Linked DNA regions of Homo sapiens: region 2 is linked to region 1. Evidence: promoter capture Hi-C in human tissues and cell types (Jung and others, 2019). All regions are on one chromosome and are shown on one strand. Each heading gives the region's core, a stretch centred on a gene start or on the middle of the fragment in contact. The rest is flanking DNA. Distances are from core to core; before and after follow the strand shown. Region 1 overlaps XPNPEP3 (X-prolyl aminopeptidase 3). Region 2 holds the start of PHF5A (PHD finger protein 5A).

What was found. The method cuts DNA at HindIII sites, captures the fragments that hold promoters and counts their contacts. A contact is called where the count stands out against the background at its distance.
Region 2: the fragment with the promoter of PHF5A here is called in contact with a fragment that was not itself captured in region 1 in 1 of the 25 tissues and cell types used here (dorsolateral prefrontal cortex).

Annotation. Positions count from the first base shown.
Region 1 is chr22:40,921,669-40,926,992 of GRCh38, forward strand. It overlaps XPNPEP3 (X-prolyl aminopeptidase 3), which reads left to right. Exons shown (of 10, transcript NM_022098.4): 8 at 665-845; 9 at 2,694-2,814; 10 at 4,601-5,324. The coding sequence ends at 4,767. Among named protein-coding and RNA genes, the nearest start is that of RBX1, 27 kb to the right of the region's middle. The HindIII fragment of the contact is 4,484 bases long and covers 772-5,255 here.
Region 2 is chr22:41,466,556-41,471,879 of GRCh38, forward strand. PHF5A (PHD finger protein 5A) reads right to left here and starts at 2,137. Exons shown (of 4, transcript NM_032758.4): 1 at 2,047-2,137; 2 at 1,569-1,592; 3 at 893-1,059. The coding sequence starts at 2,098. It overlaps ACO2 (aconitase 2), which reads left to right and starts at 2,562. Exons shown (of 18, transcript NM_001098.3): 1 at 2,562-2,627. The coding sequence starts at 2,592. RefSeq lists enhancers at 1,867-2,536, 2,106-2,667, 2,668-3,229. The HindIII fragment of the contact is 2,873 bases long and covers 120-2,992 here.

The sequences.
Region 1 (5,324 bases), core at 1,764-4,263:
ACATTCAGCTTTTTTGAATTTCAAATATTTTCTTTGGATATATTAGAGTAGAATTATAAGCTCTAGTTATATGAGCATCTTTAAGGCCTTTGATGTAATTGGCTGTATTAATTTATACTCCTATCAACAGTATGTGAGAATACATATCATGTATCATCCCAGGTCACTTTTTTATCTCGTAATTGCTAAAGAAACTGTTATTCTAAAGACACTTAAGTGCTAGTACATTACTAGTAGCCCAGATGTTGACTAGTTTATCCCATGGTATCTGCTTCACCTGTCAGAAGTGGGTCCCTAGGCTTTCTTGCCTTTTTTTTTAATGGTAGTCTATGCTGTAAGGGATTAAACAGGATCATGGCTGAGCCTCATCTGCCCACTGACTGCACTCATGGCTCAGTGCTTCTTTTGGCCCTACTTCATGTCTCTCCTGACCATTTGAAGAAGAGACTGTGTTGCTGCTCCAGCTTGAAGGATTGTTGCCCTTCCTACTGAGCACCTAGGACATGATTGAGCTCCTGGCCATATTGATAGATTGGTACTTATTAAACATCAACAGTGCCCCAGCAACAGCAGCATCTTGGGGTTTTTCTAATCAAACTTAGTAGCAAACTTCTTAGAATATCAGATTATCTAAGTTCAGGTTCTTTGGTTTTCCCGTCCCCAGGTTCACCGCACCTCAGGCAGAACTCTATGAAGCCGTTCTAGAGATCCAAAGAGATTGTTTGGCCCTCTGCTTCCCTGGGACAAGCTTGGAGAACATCTACAGCATGATGCTGACCCTGATAGGACAGAAGCTTAAAGACTTGGGGATCATGAAGAACATTAAGGAAAATAATGCCTTCAAGGTACTTCACTTCTCTTGACCCCAGTTCTCAAGAACACCTAGCATGCTGCTAGGTTTTTACCCTATATAAAGCTAATTAGACTTAGAAATGGGACAGATGTAGTGATTCATGCCTGTAATCCCAGTAGTTTAGGAGGCTGAGGCAGGAGGATTGCTTGAAGCCAGCCTGGGCAACATAGCAAGACCCATCTATATACATGTAGATATATACACACACACACACACACACACACATATATATATACACACACATACGTAGATATATATACATACACACACAGGGTTTTTTAAGTAAAAAGAAAAGATTTAGAAATCATCTTTGTGATCTATAAAAGGGATTTAGCTTTAACATGGATTAAAACAAAGGAAGTCAGTACTTATTTCTTCCAGAAGATGGCAGCACATGCTGATTCATTACATGCTGCATAACTAGCTCAGTATTCAGAAAACTTAAAATGAAGTCTGGTGCCGACAGGGTGAAAAAGGAAACAAGAAATGAGGAGAAGCCTGGGAAACATAGCAAGACCCTATCTCTACAAAAAATTTAAAAGTTAGCCAGGTGTGGTGGCACACACCTCTAGTCTCAGCTACTTGGGAGGTTGAGGTGGGAGGATCACTTGACCCCAGAAGTTCAACGCTGCAGTGAGCTATGTTCGCACCACTGCACTCCAACCCGGGCCACAGAACAAGGCCCTGTGTCTAAAAAAAAAAAAAAGAGAGAGAGATTAACTTTTAATCCTTTTATGGGTTATTCTGTAGGTCAAAGGAGAAGGTATTTGTTGTTTAAGTGACATTTTTGACACTTCAGCAATATTCCCAAAGACCATGTCATTAGTGAATTTTTTTTCTGCATCCAAAATGTGATGGTGTTCAGTAAAAACGTAAAACCTCAGCTTTAAAATTAAGATACTAGATGCCTAAGTCAGATAGACCATTAGGCATCTCCTACCTACAAGTTAAGCCTTCTAGGACTTCTGTTATCAGTAAAAATGAAGCTATAAATTGGCTGTTGCTTGGGCCAACAAATCTTTAACTAACTGACGGAAATATCCAAGCTGGCTGGGCACAGTGGCTCACACCTGTAATCCCAGCACTTTAGGAGGCTGAGGCAGGCGGATCACATGAGGTCAGGAGTTCGAGACCAACCTGGCCAACATGGTAAAACCCTGTCTCTACTAAAAATACAAAAATTAGCCAGGCATGGTGGTACATGACTATAATCCCGGCTATTTGGGAGGCTGAGGTGGGAGAATAGCTTGAACCCAGGAGACAGAGTTTGCAGTGAGCCAAGATCACACCACTGCACTCCAGCCTGGGCAGCAGAGCAAGACTCCATCTCAAAAAAAAAGAAAGAAATACCCAAGCTGGTAGGTGCCCAAAAGTGTGCCTTCTCCACAAGTTGCTGTGAGCTATTTAGGGTCTCCAGAGTAGATTCCTGAGAGGGATGTGTGAACGAACATTGGAAAGAGAACTGTGATAATAGTCATCCTCTCTTTCCCAAGAAAAGAGATTTTTTTTTCTTTCTTTTATTTTTATCTTTCCTGTGGTACTGAAGAAAAGAGACTTTCATTTGCCACAGTCATTAGTTGGAATTACTCAAGTCTGCATGTATGTAGTATATTAAATAGCGGGAATGGAAATGTGGATTGATGAGAATGCCATTGGCAGAATTGCATGTAAGAGGTCGCAGTTTTTCAGGTGCCTTTAAGTATTAGCCCAAGGAGGGATTAAACTGAAGTGGCAGAACCATGGGGGAGATAATAACACATATCTCACTGATTTATACTTGCCCAGCATTCCCTGTAAGAGGTCATTGCTCTAATGATACTGTGACAATTATCTTTTCCAGGCTGCTCGAAAATACTGTCCTCATCATGTTGGCCACTACCTCGGGATGGATGTCCATGACACTCCAGACATGCCCCGTTCCCTCCCTCTGCAGCCTGGGATGGTAATCACAATTGAGCCCGGTAAGGAGAGGTGTTACAATAGTAGTATGAGGTAAATGTTTGTTTGTTTGTTTGTTTTTGAGATGGAGTTTTGCTCTTTCGCCCAGGCTGGAGTGAAGTGGTGTGATCTTCACTCACTGCAACCTCCGCCCCCCAGGTTCAGCAATTCTCCTGCCTCAACCTCCTGAGTATCTGGGATTACAGGTGTCGGCCACCACGCCTGGCTAATTTTTATATTTTTAGTAGAGACGGGGTTTCGCCATGTTGGCCAGGCTGGTCTCGAACTCCTGACCTCAGGTGATCCACCTATCTCAGTCTCCCAAAGTGCTAGGATTATACGTGAGCTACCGCGCCCAGCCACATTGTTTATTTTTACCTCAACCAATGTAATTAAGTTAGAAGAGACAGGAAAAAAAGTCCAGTGTGGAAGGTAATTTTATTTTCGATTTATCTTTTGTATTCTTATTTAATATCACACAATTTGTTCAGTTTGACTCCTCCAATAAACAACAGATGGGGAATACTTCCTATAAGTAGATATTAAGAAATGAATCTTTTTTAATCCTGCCTTTCCCAGGGCCAGTTTGTACTGGTCTCCCATTTAGTAGTGGGGGGCTGCTCAAGCTTCCAAAGCCCCCGGTGCTTGTGTGCAGAGAGACAGGCAGACACACTATGCTCTCAGTTTCAACACCTCTGCAAGCTGCATTGAGCTACCCAGCACCATCCCACTCCTTAGTATCCATCGCCTTCCTCATAAGCTTCAGAGAAAGCTAACAATCGGATACGTTACCTAACTTGAATGGTCCTGGGTGTTGGGCAGGATTCTGAAGAGAAGCAGTGACCACAATGGTGTGTGAAGATTGATGTTGTCAGAGTTGATGGTTAAATACTGATGCTGGTTTTGTTTTGAAAACAGATCTAAATTTTAGATTTCAAGTATTTTAATCTCTGTATAAATTATGGCTGTGAAATGTCTTTTATGCCACCCTTTGAACCTAGTCATACATTGCTATCTGTGGCCATAGATATATCATTTAGTTCAATCTGTTTGGTACATGGGCGCTTCCTTAGACTGCGCTACATTTTCCTTTGCTGATCTTTCTTTTTCAATCGCAGAGCAGTATCTGTGAGGATAGTGGAGGAAGTTTACAACTTGTTTAATATAAAAAGCCCTGGTATGTGTCTAACTTCATGATTAGAAAGGGTACCTGGGGTTCCTACATTTTTCCAAATGTACATTAAAGTCTTTCAGTTTCTCTTGTATTTTATATTACACACATCAGATATATTTAAATCTTATAATGACTGTCTCTGCAGCTTCCAGTTGTCAAGGCTAATAATCTCTAAATGTTTCTTTGAATACAGTTTAAATATATTTTGTCTTTATTTTTGCAAGGTGCTCTTTTTCCAAGGGACTCTTAGGCAGGGGAAGAATGCACTTACATAATCTGCTTGTCCCCCACATATATTGACGTACTTTTAAATTAAGTAACTTTATTGGCCTGCTTGAGCCACTAGAATATGACAGAATCATGATCAGCATTGCCGTAGTTGTATTTAGCTTGTAGTCCAATATAAAGATAACCACAATAATAATTTTAGTAATGATACCAACATGTGTTGACCATTATATGCCAGCCACTTTGACATGTATTATCTCATTTAATCCTCACAGCTTTACTAGGTAGGTACCATAAAGATCCAGTATTACAGAGGAAGGAATTTTAACCCAGAGGTTAACTTACTTGCCCCAAACCACCCAGTTACTATCATTCCTGAACAGCATGTTCTTCTTTCTACTTCACAGGCATTTATATTCCAGAGGATGACAAAGATGCCCCAGAGAAGTTTCGGGGTCTTGGTGTACGAATTGAGGATGATGTAGTGGTGACTCAGGACTCACCTCTCATCCTTTCTGCAGACTGTCCCAAAGAGATGAATGACATTGAACAGATATGCAGCCAGGCTTCTTGACCTTCACTGCGGCCCACATGCACCTCAGGTTCAAAATGGGTGTCTTCTGGCAGCCCTGCACGTGTGCTTTCTGAGTGTCTCTGTGTGTGCATTAATATATGCATTCCATTTGGGAGCATAGCAGCTGTGTGAATGTATGTAATTGTGTGTGGGGGGTTTTTTGTTTTAAGTAGTTAGAAGTCTGGGAAAATGAATTTTTGAATAGTATGTTACTGCAGCTTTGGTAACATTAATTCTATAGAATTAATGATCAGAGCAAGTTTAATTTTTAAACATAAAGGTCTTGGTTACACATGTCCATGCATTCCAGTTAACACATTTAAACATATAGAAAATTCACTTCTTCTTTCAAGTCCTTCCCTTTCTATACTTTTGCTGAGATCAACCCAATATCATAAGAAGTTTGTGTGATGCCTGTATTTTTAGCTAATTACCAAGGTCTCTGCCTATGCAAAAATTCATCTTTCGGTGATTGTGGGCGGCCAATACATACCTTCTGTAACTCCTCCCTACCTATTCTAGATCCTGCATATCTACTGGAGCCATATGAGCCCTCA
Region 2 (5,324 bases), core at 887-3,386, 540 kb after region 1:
CTCTGTCACCCAGGCTGGAGTGCAGTGGCGTGAAAATGGCTCACTGCAGCCTTGACCTCTTGGTCCCAAGTGATCCATCCGCCTCAGTTTCCCAAGTAGCTGCGACCACAGGTACACACCAGCACACCTGACTAATGAAAAATATGTTTTTTTGGCCAGGCGTGATGGTTCATGCCTGTAATCCCAGCACTTGGTGAGGCTAAGGCAGGAGGATCACTTGAGCCCAGGAGTTCGAGACCAACCTAGGTAACAAAACAAGACCCTGTCTCTACAAAAAAAATTTAGCCAGGTATGGTGGCGCATGCCTGTAGTCCCAGCTACTTGGGAGGATGAGATGGGAGGATCGTTTGAGCCCAGGGGGTCAAGGCTGCAGTGAGCCTTGCACATGATCATGCCACTGCACCCCAGCCTGGGCCACAGAGCAAGAGACCCCATCTCAAAAAAACAAAAAACAAGAAGCAAAAAACAAAAAACAAAACACTTTTTTTTTTTTTGAGATGGGATCTTGCTCTGTGGCCCAGGCTGGTCTTTAACTCCTGGACTAAAGTGATCCTCCTAACTTGGACTCCCAAAGTGCTGAGATTACAGGTGTGGGCCACCACGCCCAGCCGGATGTCATTTCTGAATAAGAATAACCACAGAGACATGAATGAGAGGGCTCTCCAAATTGCTGGTCTTGACAAAGATTTGCTTCCCTTGCATTCTTCCCCTTGATGCAAAATAACTGCCTTTTATTGGACTACACCCAGTTTGACTCACAGAACTTGAAGAAATTATAACCTAGATGACTAGATGAACACAGTAATCTCCATAGACCATAGGAGATTGCAGTGGATGGCAAAGTGTTACTAAACAAAAGGAGGAAAGGTCAGATGGAAAGCTGTACACTTACGTCCTTCTCCTGGATGGTGCACTCCTTACAATAATAGGCATCAGAGACCCCAGGTCCTCCACAGATCACACAGCGCCCCTGGTAAGATCCATAGTTACACTCATCACATATGCGCACCAGAGTGCAGGGACGCACATAGGAGTCACAAATCACACACTTGCCATCACCTGTAAGGAAGAGAATGGAGTCATGCTCACAAGTTCTTCAGTCCTCTGCTATCTCCTGCCATGGGGAAATATACTAGTCTCCTGGGAAATACACTAGTCTCCTTTTGACAGTGACTTTAGGGCCCTCCTCTTGGCATCACAAAACTTGGTTTCCCCAGTGTCCATCTCAAGCCCCTCAACACATACAAAAGTTTACCAATTAACATATGTGAAGAGCTTAGAAAAGCACCTCGGAGATGATAAGCCTGTATAATTGCTGGCAAAGTGCTGTGTGTTGGGGAGGGGTCATGCTACTCTGGCGATTCTTCCCGTTGAAAACTAGAGAGATACAGCGTTAAATGTGCAAGCGGCAGTGGGGAGTTAGAGGGGCCTTTGGCTAAAGTGCAGCATTCAGTGTTCACATACTTCCAGGCACATCTACTCAAAGCCCTCTTTGTGGCACTTTTGCTGGTTCCACAGAAAACTGGGAGTGGGAAGGGTGGGTTGTTGGGACGGTGTGTTCCACTCACATTTTTCACACAGTCTTCCGATGGCTGCAAGATGAAAGATGGTAAAAAGTACAATTAGAATAAAGGTTTTGAGAAAGAGGAGAAGTACATCCTCGAGCTGGGGGTAGGGACATGAGTAAGGACTGCAGTGAGTGAGACCTGCGGATAGCCATTTTATCATTACAAATTTCCATATGAACCAAACCTACATCCAAGCACCCTCCTGAATCTCCTCCAACGCCCTGGGCAAGCTCAGAGTTTCTCTGGACCTGGTTCAGACCCCACCCCCCGATACCTGCCTGGGGCTCCCAGCACGCGCACCCCCGCCCTCTTCTCATCAGAGGCCACAAACCTGCGCGCTCCTACAACACCCCGCGCCTGAGAGGCGGGAAACGTGGCGCCTGCGAGGCAAGCCCCTAAGGAAGAGACGGGAACCCCCGACCCCCCAGCTCCTAATACCACCCCTGCCCAGACAGCCAGGGGTAGGGCGCAGTCTCACCAACACCAGCCTGCTTGCGGCAAAAGATCAAATCAGGATGATGTTTAGCCATAGCTCCTAACTAAGCCGGCCACCGGAAGCTTCGGGAACTTCCGTCCGACCTTTAACCCCCATTGTTCCTGCCTCCACGTCGCTGTGATTGGTTCTCTAAGCTTCCGTCAGTTTACAATCCTTGCACCAGGCCCGTCTTGCTCTCGCGCGAGTTTTTGTCGCTGCTGGGCGGCCAGGTCCTGGCAGGTGCATGAAACTCTTAAAAACTCTCCCAGATTTGGATGGCGGAGATAACTAAAATTTGTTCTTGGGTAAAACATCTTTGTGCTTGGTATCTATTTCTGCAAGTGTCTTTGGGCAGTCCGATTTCCTCTTGCGTGTCTGTTCGTTGCACGTGAGCTCCGCCCATTGCGTTCACAGGGTTCTGGCGCCTCTAGGGAGGCCTCGCCTTCACCGTGACGCCCCACTCTTCCGGGCACGCCCCTGCCCAAAGGCTTTAAAGGCGCCGTGTGGGACGTCACTTTAATGCGACCTCATCTTTGTCAGTGCACAAAATGGCGCCCTACAGCCTACTGGTGACTCGGCTGCAGGTGAGCGAGCTCAGGGACCTCTGGGTTCACGGGGGCGGGGTGCCTCCTACTGTGCCGGCGGCTGTGGGCGAGGCAGGGCGAGGCGGGCCCAACCTGGGGCCAACTTCTCGTGTACCTGTCCCGGTTGTGGGCCCGGCACCCGTGCCCGCTTCTCTGGTGCCCTAGGTCAAGGCGTCCCCGGCACAGTCAGCTTTCCTGGCCCTGTCCCTGCCTCGCAAGAAGCGTGGGCCCAAGCAGCGGCGGCCGGGTGAAGAGCGGAGGCACCTCTTTCTTCTTTTTGAGGACAGCATTGCCTGCTCCCGTGGGGTGTGTTTCCATTCCTCAAGGTGAGGACAAGGTGACTAGGGGGCGCGGTCGTTGTTGAGTCTTCTAGGCCCAGTTCCTGAGGCCTCACTTCCCATCTCTTAGCAACAGAGGCATGACAGCATCTACGGTTGCCAGGCCTGGAGTCTGGAGAAGAAACTAGGACCCTGTACCACCTTTTGAGGACCCTGCGGAACGTGGAATGTCGGGGAGGGGGGCGGTCTTCTGGGCCCATACGTAGTAAATAATATAATAATAGTCTCTCACCTTTGCACAAGATTTGAGGCCTGTTTTAATTCTTCATAATATTATTTGATTCCTGTAATCGTAGGAATGAGGTGGTTTTTCTCATTTGATAGATGATAAAGCTGGTAGAAAGTAGGTGAAAGTTCTGATTCTCAAGAGTGTCACCGAAGTGCTGTGGCAGAAGCATGGGCCCTACCACCACTCAGTTCTTGTTTATGTCAGCCTGCCCTCACAGAACTTTATGAACCACGGTGCAATTATTTCTGTTTGTCAGAATGCAGTACGAATATTTTGAGCCTCACAATAAGTTGCTTGTCAAATATGGGAGGATAAGGAGACTCCAGTTTGACCTTGACTCCCCTGTTAGGAGCTATCTAGAAAGCTGACTGACTGCCAGATGATTTTTTCACTTCTAACTTGACAGCCCTGGGAAGGTGTTATACTCAGAGGTTCAATGTCAAATGTGTACTTTGTTAATAAAAATCAAGCAAGCATCTGTAGACATTCTCTGTCAACCTTTCACATTTAACTTTGTGAATTCCTTTTGGATCAAGTGGCGCAACTTTGATAATAGAATTTTACGAGTTGTTATGCGTTGTACTCTCAGGAAGCTTGTGGTACTTGAACTTATTTTTCATCACATTGCTTAAATTTAAACTTGAACTTATTTTTCATCACATTGCTTAAATTGAAACCATATGGTTTAAAGTAAAATCATCATTTATCTGAAAGAAAATATTTCTGATCTCAATTCCGGGCTAAGGGAAAGGATTTGCACCTAATTATCTCTTTACATCTTTTTTTTTTTTTTTTTTTTTTTTTTTTTTTTTTGAGACAGTCTTGCTCTGTCACCCAGGCTGGAGTGCAATGGCGCAATCTTGGCTGACTGCAACTCTGCCTCCTGGGTTCAAGTGACTCTCCTGCCCTCAGCTTCCCGAGTAGCTGGGATTACAGGTGTGCACCACCATGCTTGGCTAATTTTTGTATTTTTAGTAGAGACGGGGTTTCACCCTGTTGACCAGGCTGGTCACAAACTCCTGACCTCAAGTAATCGGCCTGCCTTGGCCTCCCAAAGTCCTGGGATTACAGGTGTGAGCCACCACACCTGGCCTCTTCACGTCTTTTGATTCTCTAGGTTAATGATGTGGAAATAGTTGTTTCTTCCTGTCTCATGATTTAAGGGAGTCAGGCAAGATTATTTGATAAGATAAATGATTATAGAGTTCTTGAACTTGGAAGAGAAGAATAGTATCACACCATTTTGAACCGAAAAGGATCTTGGAAAGTATGAGTATTAGACTGGTGTAGAAGGAGATCTGGGCTCTCTTTCCTGATCCTGTGACCTTGAGTAAGTTACTTCCTGAATCCATTGTCCATTGGAGATGATCTTCATTGAACAAATGTATATTCAGCAAGTGGATGTTAGAAAGTGATGAGCAAGTAGAATGAGTTTACAACCATCACGTAGACTAACCTCTTATACAGGTGGAAAAATCTAAGACCTTGAGAGCCTGGGTGACTTCCAGTAGCAGAGTCAGGATTAAAATCCTGGTCTCCTTGTTTGTTCCTTCAGCTAAGATGAATGAACAATATTATGCAGTTTGCACACTGCCTCCCAATAACCAGGCTGTCTCAAATAACCAACTAACACGGTTTCTCTGAGAAGCTTGTATATTTACCCCTTTTGTGCTTAGATACATTTGAGAAGTGATGGTTACTACCTTAATAGTCATGTATGCAAAACCCTATGCCTGTAGTCAATTCATTCCTACCTCATTCACCATATATTTACTGAGCGCCCAATGCTTGTTCTGGATACCGTGGTAAGCAAAGACAGTCCCTGTTCTCGTGGAGCTTCCACTGTATTCTAATGTACCTGACTGCAGAGGGCCTTGGAGATCTTTCTCAGCCAAATATAGTATTTTTCTTTCCTTGGCTGGACCAAAGGTGAAGGTAGATAATAGAATGATGGGTGTTACTCCCAGCACTAAGAGTACCTAACATTTATCTTACTGTGTATGACTAATTTCACATGACTCTGTGAGATGAGGCAGGCCTATTAGCCTGATTTATAGATGAAGAAACAGGATTAGAGAGCAAACATAGTGTTATGGTTGAGAGCATGGACTCTGGCATCAGGCAGCCTAG